2 separate regions of the Homo sapiens genome follow, and region 2 is linked to region 1. The links are contacts of gene promoters, found by promoter capture Hi-C in human tissues and cell types (Jung and others, 2019). All regions are on one chromosome and are shown on one strand. Each heading gives the region's core, a stretch centred on a gene start or on the middle of the fragment in contact. The rest is flanking DNA. Distances are from core to core; before and after follow the strand shown. Region 1 holds the start of ZSCAN29 (zinc finger and SCAN domain containing 29). Region 2 overlaps TP53BP1 (tumor protein p53 binding protein 1).

What was found. The method cuts DNA at HindIII sites, captures the fragments that hold promoters and counts their contacts. A contact is called where the count stands out against the background at its distance.
Region 2: a contact is called between a fragment that was not itself captured here and the fragment with the promoter of ZSCAN29 in region 1, in 2 of the 25 tissues and cell types used here (H1 embryonic stem cells and IMR-90 fibroblasts).

What each region holds. Positions count from the first base shown.
Region 1 is chr15:43,368,851-43,374,697 of GRCh38, reverse strand. It overlaps ZSCAN29 (zinc finger and SCAN domain containing 29), which reads left to right and starts at 3,655. Exons shown (of 6, transcript NM_001372080.1): 1 at 3,655-4,140; 2 at 4,673-5,102; 3 at 5,571-5,775. The coding sequence starts at 4,785. TUBGCP4 (tubulin gamma complex component 4) reads right to left here and starts at 3,597. Exons shown (of 18, transcript NM_014444.5): 1 at 3,266-3,597. The coding sequence starts at 3,343. RefSeq lists an enhancer at 3,467-3,586 and a silencer at 3,687-3,956. The HindIII fragment of the contact is 7,589 bases long and covers 1-5,847 here.
Region 2 is chr15:43,470,750-43,476,596 of GRCh38, reverse strand. It overlaps TP53BP1 (tumor protein p53 binding protein 1), which reads left to right. Exons shown (of 28, transcript NM_001141980.3): 9 at 903-1,032; 10 at 1,830-1,924. Among named protein-coding and RNA genes, the nearest start is that of TP53BP1, 19 kb to the left of the region's middle. The HindIII fragment of the contact is 4,460 bases long and covers 228-4,687 here.

The DNA of each region.
Region 1 (5,847 bases), core at 2,406-4,905:
GGTTCCTGCTTTCACTTCTTTTGGGATATACCCTGAAGTAGAACTGCTAGATTGTATGGGAATTTTATATTTAATTTTTTTTTTTAGAGACAAGGTTTCACTCTGTCACCCAGACTGGAATACAGTGGTGGGTTCATAGCTCACTGTAACCTTGAACCCCTAGGTTCAACCAATTCTCCCACCTCAGCCACCAGAGTAGCTAGGACTACAGGCATGTGTCACCATGCCCAGCTAATTAAAAATTTTTTTTTTGTAGAGATGGAGTCTTGCTCTGTTGCGCAGGCTAGCCTCAAACTCCTGGCATTAACTGATCCTCCAGCCTCACCCTCCCAAAGTGCTGAGATCACAAGTGTCAGCCGCTGTGCCTGGCCTTTATTTAATTTTTTGAAGAACTGCCATACCATTTTCCACAATGGCTGTACCATTTTACATTTCCATTACTATATCCCAGGTACTGTGCTAATACTTTGAGATAAAAGAGTGAACAAAATCAGATACAATTACTGCTCCAAAGGAACTTAGCATATTATATGGATGGATATATAATATGGATTATATGTGGATGCCATTTTATATGACAGTAAATGTGGTAACAAATAGGCGAAGAAGAATTTTTCTGTTACCAAGTCCATAGAAAATTGATTAGGAATCCAATTAATGTAGATTTTAATGACACAATGCTAATCACATCTTCAAGTTAGTAACTTAAGAGGTTGCACAACACGGTGCTTAAGAACCTGGTCTCTTGCCGGGCGCAGTGGCTCACGCCTGTAATCCCAGCACTTTGGGAGGCCGAGGTGGGCGGATCACGAGGTCAGGAGATCGAGACCATCCTGGCTAACACGGTGAAACCCCATCTTTACTAAAAAAACTACAAAAAAATTAGCCGGGTGTGGCGGCAGGCGCCTGTAGTCCCAGCTGCTCGGGAGGCTGAGGCAGGAGAATGGCGTGAACCCAGGAGGTGGAGCTTGCAGTGAGCCGAGATTGCACCACTGCACTCCAGCCTGGGCGACAGAGCGAGACTCCATCTCGGAAAAAAAAAAAAAAAAAAAGAACCTGGTCTCTGGAGCCCAACTGCCTGGGTTTGAATCCCTGAGTTGCCTCTTACTTGCTTGAAAGCTTAGGCAAGTTACTATACCTGTCTGTGCCTGTTTTCATACCTATAAACTGAAGAAAATAATTGTGAGGATTAAATAAGTTAATACATGTGTAAAGCACATATCCCAACCACATAGCTAGTGCTCAATACACATAAGCAATTTTATATTATTAACAAGACAGCTCTACCAGTTATCAAGTGATACTACTATTAAAATTGGCATTTGAGCGTTTCTTGTTGGCAGAGTTTTCGAAAAGTTCAATATCTAATTATTCTGAAACAGCAAATAATAACTCGAAGTTACTGATACCATTCTATATAACACAGTTATAGGAACAGGCTGAGAAATCCTGCATTAGAATAATGGTCATTTGAACTTATTGATTTGGTAGTTTTGTTTACTTTTAATTTATAAAAATATTTGATTTTATAGTTGTTTAAGAGTATTATGCTTGAGTTTATACCTAGCTTATGTATATACATATTCAATATAATAAAATAATTTTCATTAACACTTGGCACTCATGACAACTTTTCCCTTTACTCAAATGTAAAAGACACTGCTCTGCAGAAATTATGTAATATTTGCCATCTTTGTCTTCTTTTCTTCCATCAATACCTAAACACCTGCTATGTGGCAGAAACTGTGCTAGGTGCTCTGGGTAGATGAATGAAGAAGACCACTGGTCTTCGCTCCCAGGGGCAATCTATGCGGGAGAAAGGCTAAAAACAGGTAACAACAATACATTATGAATTGTGACAAATCCTACAAGGGAAATAAACAAGTTGATGGAGAATAATGGCATCAGGGGAGGATGCTTAAAGATGTGCTCAGAGAAAGTTTTTCTGACAAAGTGACTTTAAAGCTGAGACCTTGAGGATGAAATGGTAGAAAATACATGATTGAGAATTTTTCATAAGAAAGAAAGGAAGGGAAAAGATGAATTACTTGTGGTTGTCTCCCCCACCCCCTCCCTAGCTATCTTTCCTGTACTGTGTTATCTCTTCTTATTTTGGACCATCAGGCACCCACATACTTCCTAAATACTGTCCTCCTATATGCCTGGCATTGTACTAAGATCTATGGAGAAAAGTGAAACATCGAATTAGTCTTCAAAGACCTACAGGTGAAAGATAACAATTCAAACTCCACCACACAAATCTTCACCTGTTTTTTTCAAAAATTCACCTAAACTCCCAAACTCCAAATACATGTTCATAAATAATAACGAAAGGAAACTGTTTGATTTATAGGTTTTATAGACTAAGAATGTACTTTTTCTGCTCTTCCACAGTCTCCTAAGAATCGGCATGTCTTGGTGATCAGACGGACCTAGATTTCAGTCTTGCCACTACTAGGACTGGCCAGCATAAAGTTTTCTGAGCTTCAGTTTGCTCATTTGTTAACTGGTAGAAACAATACCTAAGTGGACTAAATTATTGAGAGCATTAGATAACATTACTGGAAGCAGAAGCAGGTAAAAGTAGTTCAAATACTGAAGCCAGACAGACCTGGCTTCAAAACTAAGCTCTGTTAATTACTAGCTATGACCCCGATAGTTATTTAACTATTCTAAACCTAGCTTAATCTGTAAAATGGATAAGGTGGTTGTGAGGATTAAATAAGATAATGCATACGGAACATCATACATTCCTGGTTACACAAAGGCCCCCTACCAAGTGCTTTACCTAGTGCAGAAATTTTCTGGTAAAGGAGTAATGAGGGAAACACCACACGCTCTCGATTTCATTTATTTCCTTCAACAAACTTTACTGAGCGCTTACCATGTGTTTGGGAGCTGTGTATTTGGCCCAGTACTTCAAAACTCAAACAATGCACGTGTGAAAATAAATAGGAGAAAGTGCCTCCCACACTTCTATATCATTCCCCAGCAACTGTCAGACACCTGGACCTCAGGCCCTTTCCTCGCCCCGCCACAGGTGGGGCTCTTCGAGGTCTGCCCTCCGTTTTCTAGCCTAGGCCCGGCCTCTCTAGGTGTCGCATCAGCCTTGACCCTAAGGGGCTGCCCTCCAGTCACCTGTCCAGGGATACGCCCCCAGCCCTGGAAGCCCCGCTCGCTAGGTCCCTCAGCCTACTCCCCCAGGCGCTGGCTCAGGTCCCCCCTCCTGCGCTCCCTGGTTCCCGCGCTCTGCGCCGGACAGTACCTGCAGGCCACTCCGCTTGTTCCAGGTGAAAATGGACCCAGGGTACCCGCTCAGAGCCAAGAGCAGTTCGTGGATCATTCCCACGGCGGACCTCGAGTCCCTGGTTATGTCACCCCCTCCTCCAGCGCACCTCCAGGCGACCACGAGGGGAGTGCTTCCCCTTCCACACGCGCACCGGCCCCTGGGTCGGGCGGTTTGTGCCGAATCAACCCACCGAGACAATCGCTGCGGCGGAGCGGACGGGAAGCTGGGAAGGGGTCGCGGGGGAGTCCCGGAAGTTCGGCAGCTCAACGGGGTCCACCAGCTACTCCCGCCCGGGCTCTGCGGAGACTGAGTCGCGGTCGCTGCCCTCGCGCATGCGCCCTCGGTGCCCCGAGCCGCCCGCTCGGACTTCCGGTTTGGGAGCTGTACTTGGGAGGCTGGAGAGCCGGGGCCGGGGCCGGGGCCGGGGCCGGGGTCAGGGTCGGACCCCGAGTGGGTGAGGCTGGCCCGGAGGCAAGGATGCGAGGGGGTTGAGGGGCAGCTCGAGAGGGAGACGCTCCCAGGGGTGGGCTGGAGGGCGCCCTCAGGGCGCCTTAGCCGGGTCAGAGGCCTCTGGAGGGACCGCACGACGGCTCCGGGTTACCCGGCCGGAGGGAGCGGAGACAAAAGAGGCCAGAATCCCGCAGCCGCTGCTCCTTGGGCTGAGAGCTCTGCGTCCGCGAACCGGCAGCACCTGGAGCCTCTGGCCGACACCCGAGCCCGTCCTCAGGAAGCCCGTTACTACTGCTCCTCGGATTCCGTCTCTCCTGCCCAATGTGACTCTCCCCAAGCCCCCATGGTCCTCGCTTTGGAGCCAAAACCAGCTTCTCTCCTTGCGCGAGGTTTTCCGACAGGTAGCTCCCTAATCCTTGCTGAGCGGCTACTACTACGCGGGGAAAACAAAGACCCGAGATTCTGGACGTGATTTTTGCCTGGGGTGGGCTTTGGGAGTTGTGCAGCCCGAGGGGGCGGGGCGGACGCAGAAGGCCTCGGGAAGGACTGCGGAGATACTGGGGGAGATCAGCTGCGACCAGCTGGACAGAGGCTTTTTGTTGCCTTCAAGCAGGATGGTGACTTGTCTTTAGATCCTCTCGAACTCCAGCTCTCCTATATGGTTCGGACTCACTGTGCAACATTGGCCAGGGAAGTTAAATGGGATCGGATTTGGAGGAGGTGGGAGAGGGGCAGACAGTACTTTTATTCTCTGCTGCTTCCTGGGGCTGCCCTGGAAGTCAACCAGAAAAGCAGTTTTTGCAAAGTCTATTTACTGAAGATTGTGCTACCTTAGAAGGCCACTCGGAGCACATGGAAAGGCAGGCCAGCTCTGGCAAGACTTTAGACATATGAATGTATTCCTTCTGATAGTGCCATCTTTCTCTGCCCTAGGAAGAAACACCTCTTACAGTCATCTGCAGGGGATTCTCCAAGGACATGGGAAGATAGATGTAAGCCCTGGAACCCAGACTCCTAAGCGAAGGGAAGCTGCATTCTGCTATTAATGATGGCCAAATCAGCTCTAAGAGAGAATGGCACTAACTCTGAGACCTTCCGACAGCGTTTCAGGAGATTCCATTACCAGGAGGTGGCTGGGCCGCGGGAGGCTTTCAGCCAACTCTGGGAACTTTGCTGTCGGTGGCTAAGGCCGGAGGTGCGCACCAAGGAGCAGATTGTAGAACTGTTGGTGCTAGAGCAGTTCCTGACCGTCTTACCTGGGGAGATCCAGAATTGGGTACAGGAACAATGTCCAGAAAATGGAGAGGAGGCAGTGACTCTCGTGGAAGATTTAGAAAGAGAGCCTGGAAGACCTAGATCTTCGGTGAGAAGGGAGGGGGAATTCAAATTCAAAAGTGTGATACTGGGTGGAGGGCTAAATTAAGATATAGACAGGCTTAAAGAGGGACACAGTCTCCCTTGGTGAGGCTTATACTTCTGGTCTGGTATAGGTAACTTTTTCAGATAGTGCTTGTCTGGAGATGCTTCCTGGGTGTACCTTCACCTACCCTGTCATAATGAGTTTTTCCTATAGTTTCTTAATAGGGAAGAAAGGGGATTTTTTTTTTTCAGCCTGAAGGTGGGTTTACTATTTTGATCGTTTCCTTCTGGAGTTTCAACTGCTTTAAGCTAATGGCAATGGAATAAGACCCTTGTTCGCGTTAACCTCCCTCACCCCTACAACCCTGGCCATGGCTCTGAAAGATGATCTCTTTTGGGGTATTAAATACTCTCCTCTGGGAATGCCCCTCATTATGATCTTGCAGTGACAATTAACGGGGGTTGTTTCTAGGTCACAGTCTCTGTGAAGGGGCAGGAAGTGCGCTTGGAGAAGATGACACCCCCGAAATCATCACAAGAGTTATTAAGTGTTCGGCAGGAGTCAGTGGAACCCCAGCCCAGGGGTGTACCCAAGAAAGAGAGGGCAAGAAGCCCAGACCTGGGACCACAGGAGCAGATGAACCCAAAGGAGAAGCTCAAACCTTTTCAAAGGAGCGGTGAGGAGTAGATTCATATGGGAAGATAGACTGCCATTCCAAGTTGGGAAGTAGGGTTGGGAATAGTGAGTG
Region 2 (5,847 bases), core at 1,208-3,707, 100 kb before region 1:
TTAATATAGTTGATACTCCATCTATTGCTAAGGGGAAGGGACCAACAAGAGACTCTTCATAGTATAAAACAGTAATGGCTGCTCATAAATCCTTTTACTCCTTTGAGCAGGCCCAAATCTTGAAAACTGCTGCATTTATAACATCAAGTGTCATGTGCATTTTTTTGACTTCTCCCATCTGTATCATGGCATGAGCTTGACTTCACCTAAGGTAGACGTTGGAATAAAAGGCTCATTTGCTGTTTTTTAATAGAAGCATCACAAGAAAGAAGAGCAGCTAAGCAGAAGTATAAGGATTCTGGCTTTTATTTTATTTATTTATTTATTTTTTTGAGACGGAGTCTCCCTCTGTTGCCCAGGCTGGAGTGCAGTGGTGCAATCTCAGCTCACTGCAACCTCTGCCTAGCAGGTTCAAGTGATGCTCCTGCCTTAGCCTTCCAAGTAGCTGGGATTACAGGCGCATACCACCACGCCCAGCTAATTTTTGTATTTTTAGTAGAGATGAGGTTTCACCATGTTGGTCTGGCTAGTCTTGAACTCCTGACCTCAGATGATCCACCCGCCTCAGCCTCCCAAAGTGCTAGGATTACAGGTGTGAGCCACTGCGCCCATCCAGGATTCTGGCTTTTAATCTCCAAGCTTAGATCATGACAGAAAGGACTAAGGAACTCTTCATCAGTTCTTTATTCAAGAAGCCCATTGCGGGGGTGGTTAATGTTCACTCAAGATTTGTGCTATTGTAGTAGTCCATTCGTTGTACTATAATTAGAAAACAATTTCTGCCCTTTTGGAAATATGGAAATATGTTGGAAATATGGATATTACTCTTTGCAGTACTGAATGGTTTTTGGCAGCTCAGTAGTGTCAATCTGAGAAGTGCAACTGGAATTTCTTTTTTTCAGTATCTTCTGATGGTTGCTCTACTCCTTCAAGGGAGGAAGGTGGGTGTTCTTTGGCTTCCACTCCTGCCACCACTCTGCATCTCCTGCAGCTCTCTGGTCAGAGGTCCCTTGTTCAGGACAGTCTTTCCACGTAAGTAAGCCTAAAATAGCTTATGCCAAGGCAGTATGTGCCTGAGAGTCTTAGGCTAAGGCTGAAAGAGGCTAAACTTATCTGCTAGTCTAGAATTCTTTTTGAAACCAAATGGTAGAACCTATGCATTAGAGCTTTGGGGATGAAGAACTGTTGAAGGCAGATAAATCTGTTGTCCCATTTGAAAATTTTATAATAGTAGCCCAAACGTTTCACTAAGAAAGAAAAGGCGCAGTTATTTAGAAAATGTTACACATCCAAAACAAGCATTCTGCTCCTCTGTTTTACTTGCAATTCTTCTCATTTAATAGCAGAGGGTGGAGAATAGGTTGTTAAGTTGACAGTAGTTGGATTTCTTTATGTTAGGGCAAAGAGGTTCGCTTGTTGGTTTTTTTTGTTTAGTTTTAGTTTTCTGATGAAAATGTTCATGGTCTGACTATTATTAGGCAAAAAAATGGAATAATTTTTTTTATGTCTCAAATCTGCAAATGAATTTATTTCCTAGCACTGCTCATTTTGCTTTTAAATCATGATGTCCTTGTGTCTGATCATTCACTTTGCCCTTACTCTCTTTTTGAAAAAGTTCTTATTTTACAACAGAAATGTCTGGTGTGGGAAATAGTTATTGAAGTATTTTTGGTTCTTCCACCAGCCTCAGGTTGCTGTTGGGGAAAAGTGCTGATAAGTATTTATCTGAATGCCTTAGATATTTTTTCCTGTTAAAAAGTAAAAGCAAATACAGAAATGCAAAACTGTGGCTATGGTAAAATAACCTGTGATTCTCTCTTTATATAAAGGAATTCTTCAGATCTTGTTGCTCCTTCTCCTGATGCTTTCCGATCTACTCCTTTTATCGTTCCTAGCAGTCCCACAGAGCAAGAAGGGAGACAAGGTGAGCTCTCTTGATCTGTCTGTTGATCTCAGATTAGAAGAGGAGCAACACTTTTTCTGCCTTGCAAAATGTACTACTTCTTTGTACTTTAGAATGCTTGTGACCTACACAATTCGGTAGGACTCATGTTTGTCTAACCTTTAGGGATGTGACCTACTGTAAAGTGCTGTCCTCAGTTCTTTGCTTTTCCTTCCTTCCTTTTTTTTTTTTTTTTTTTGTCTAACCCCATTGAGAGGTGACAGCGTGCTGGCAGTCCTCACAGCCCTCGCTCGCTCTCGGCGCCTCCTCTGCCTGGGCTCCCACTTTGGCGGCACTTGAGGAGCCCTTCAGCCCACCGCTGCACTGTGGGATCCCCTTTCTGGGCTGGCCAAGGCTGGAGCCCGCTCCCTCAGCTTGCAGGGAGGCGTGCAGGGAGAGGTGCGAGCAGCAACCGGGGCTGTGCGCGGCGCTTGCGGGCCAGCTGGAGTTCCTGGTGGGTGTGGGCTTGGCGGGTCCTGCACTCGGAGCAGCCGGCCGGCCCTGCCGGCCCCCCGGGCAATGAGGGGCTTAGCACCCGGGCCAGCGGCTATGGAGGGTGTACTGGGTCCCCCAGCAGTGCTAGCCCACCGGCGCTGCGCTTGATTTCTCGCCGGGCCTTACTTAGCTGCCTTCCAGTGGGGCAGGACTCGGGACCTGCAGCCCGCCATGCCTGAGCCTTCCACCCCCTCCGTGGGCTCCTGTGTGGCTGAGCCTCCCTGATGAGCACTGCCCCCTGCTCCACGGCACCTAGTCCCATCGACCACCCAAAGGGCTGAGGAGTGCAGGAGCACGGCACAGGACTGGTAGGCAGCTCCACCTGCAGCCCCCGTGCGAGATCCACTGGGTGAAGCCAGCTGGGCTGCTGAGTCTGGTGAGGACGTGGAGAACCTTTATGTCTAGCTCAGGGATTGTAAATACACCAATCGGCACTCTGTATCTAGCTCAGGGTTTGTAAACACACCAGTCAGCACCCTGTGTCTAGCTCTGAGTTTGTGAATGCACCAATCCACACTCTGTATCTGGCTGCTCTGGTGGGACGTGGAGAACCTTTATGTCTAGCTCAGGGATTGTAAATACACCAATCGGCACTCTGTTTCTAGCTCAAGGTTTGTAAACACACCAATCAGCACCCTGTGTCTAGCTCAGGGTTTGTGAATGTACCAATGGACACTCTGTATCTAGCTACTCTGGTGGGGCCTTGGAGAACCTTTGTGTGGACACTCTGTATCTAGCTAATCTGGTGGGGACGTGGAGAACCTTTGTGTCTAGCTCAGGGATTGTAAATGCACCAATCAGCCCCCTGTCAGCACAGACCACTGGCTCTACCAATCAGCAGGATGTGGGTGGGGCTAGATAAGAGAATAAAAGCAGGCTGCCCGAGCCAGCAGTGGCAACCCGCTCGGGTCCCCTTCCACAGTGTGGAAGCTTTGTTCTTTCACTCTTTGCAATAAATCTTGCTACTGCTCACTCTTTGGGTCCACGCTGCTTTTATGAGCTGTAACACTCACTGCGAGGTCTGTAGCTTCACTCCTAAAGCCAGCGAGACCACGAGCCCACTGGGAGGAACGAACAACTCTAGACGCGCTGCCTTAAGAGCTGTAATACTCACCGCGAAGGTCTGCAGCTTCACTCCTGAACCAGCGAGACCACGAACCCACCAGAAGGAAGAAACTCCGAACACATCTGAACATCAGAAGGGACAGACTCGAGACGCGCCACCTTAAGAGCTGTAACTCTCACCGTGAGGGTCCGCGGCTTCATTCTTGACGTCAGTGAGACCAAGAACCCACCAATTCTGGACACACCATCCCCCATTCTTTGCTTTTCTAGCACTAATTCTATTGAGATTTCTGTATTGGCTCAATTTTTAAAAAGGCTCTGAAGGAAAAATTTTTGTTTTTAAAGTTGAACTGAAATGAATTAGTATGGGGAAGAACTGGACTTATTAATAATGGCCTACTTGTTTCTAGCAACACGTGAACACATTTCTGGTGAGAAGGAACCAGCAATTGTTTCTTGTGGTCCTTATAGGTTATTTTTGCTATTAAAATAGTTTTAGCATAAGAATGGTTAAGAGTAGGTGGTAAAAATTTTAACTTCATTCATTTACTCCTTTGACGACTTAGAGATTTTATATTACTTTATTCACAAGAAAGCTTTCCTTTTCACTTACCTAATTTATCTCATTATTTAAGCTTCTTTTGCTCTGACCTAGTCTCCTATCCAGTCATTCAAGATGTTTCTAAGTTCTTACGATTTCTACAAAGCTTTTTCTAATAAATTCTATGATTTTCATCTTTTCACTCTTTCATATACAAGTAATGGTATAATAGTTTTATTTATTGAGCACTTAGTATAGGCAAGGCATTGTTCTAAGGGCATTTCTGTGGTTTTTCTCATTGAATCCTCACAAACATCCTAAGAAGGAGGTGTTATTTTTATCCCCATTTTACAGATGAGGAAATGGAGGCATAGAGAGATTTTTCAACTAATGAGATGTAGAAGCAGAATTTGAACTCAGGCAGCTGCCTCCAGAGCCTGTGCCTTCATCTGTCATGTATATGCCTCCTATTATATCCTTTCTCTGCTCTTGAGTAACATAAAACATAGACATTTAACAGTTTTTCAAATGTAATTTATCAGTGATAGAATTTGATCTTAGGCTTTCTTCTGCTACAAAGTTTGTCTCTGGCTGTTTCTCTTAAAATCAGTTGTAGGTATCCAAATTGACTAATATCAATCTAAGCATAACATGATTAGTGACTGATATCAATCTAAGTATAACATGATTAGGTGAATTAATTCTACAAAAACCCAGGTAATACAAGTGAAGTTTGGTTAATTCTTAAAACAGTTTCTTTTATCTTTTATCTGTAGTGTGAACATTGAAAAAATATAAAAATAATTATATTAAATATACTTTCTCAGGCTGGGCACGGTGTCTCACACCTGTAATCCCAATACTTTGGGAGGCCAAGGTGGGCAGATCACCTGAGGTCAGGAGTTTGAGACCAGCCTGGCCACCATGGTGAAACCCCATCTCTACTAAAAATATAAAAAATTAACTGGGTGTGGTGGCGGGTGCCTGTAATCCCAGCTACTCAGGAGGCTGAGGCAGGAGAATCACTTGAACCTGGGAGGCGGAGGTTGCAGTGAGCCAAGGTGGCACCACTGCGTCGCAGCCTGGACAACAGAGCGAGACCCTGTCTCAAAAAAAAAAAAGCTTTCTCCCTGATTGTAAACAGTCAATATTTATTGTAGAAAGTTTGTTAAGTATATAGGAAATTAATGAAAATAAAAATCACCTGTGATACTACACTCCAGATATAGCTACAACTAGTATATTTGGATATATTTCAGTTTTCAATGCATAAAGTAGTTTTACATAATTGGCATGTTGTGTATATGACTCAGTTTTTTTTTTTTATGTAACAGTGTATTTTCCCTTGTCAGTTATATTTTAGATTTAATGCATTTGCTTAATATGTATGTACATCAGTGTTTGTGAAACTATATGTGCTTTTTGTATTTATTTGTTTTTTTGCTTTTCTCTTAACCTAAAGCCTTTTTTGTATGTAGTGCCTATAACAGCAGGTTTTTAATGTGCTTTGTCATGGCAAGAAAGTTCAAAAGGTGCAACAAAAATACTTAGCACAGCTATGGTAGTATATTAAAGGCCTGTAGCACTGGATCCCAAATTAGGTGTAGACTGGTAAGGTTGAGACTAAGCTAAGCAGCAAAGCTGGGTATTGAGGTTGCAGTTTGGGTAGCTGGTAGCATGAATGTGAATTATGGGGAAAAGGTAAATGTTGTTAGTAGTTTGTGAGTGGTCTAGAGGAAGCCTGGTTGGGGTCAAGTTGTAAGATAGGGGATACAAATGATGAATCAAATACTTAGCTAGCTGG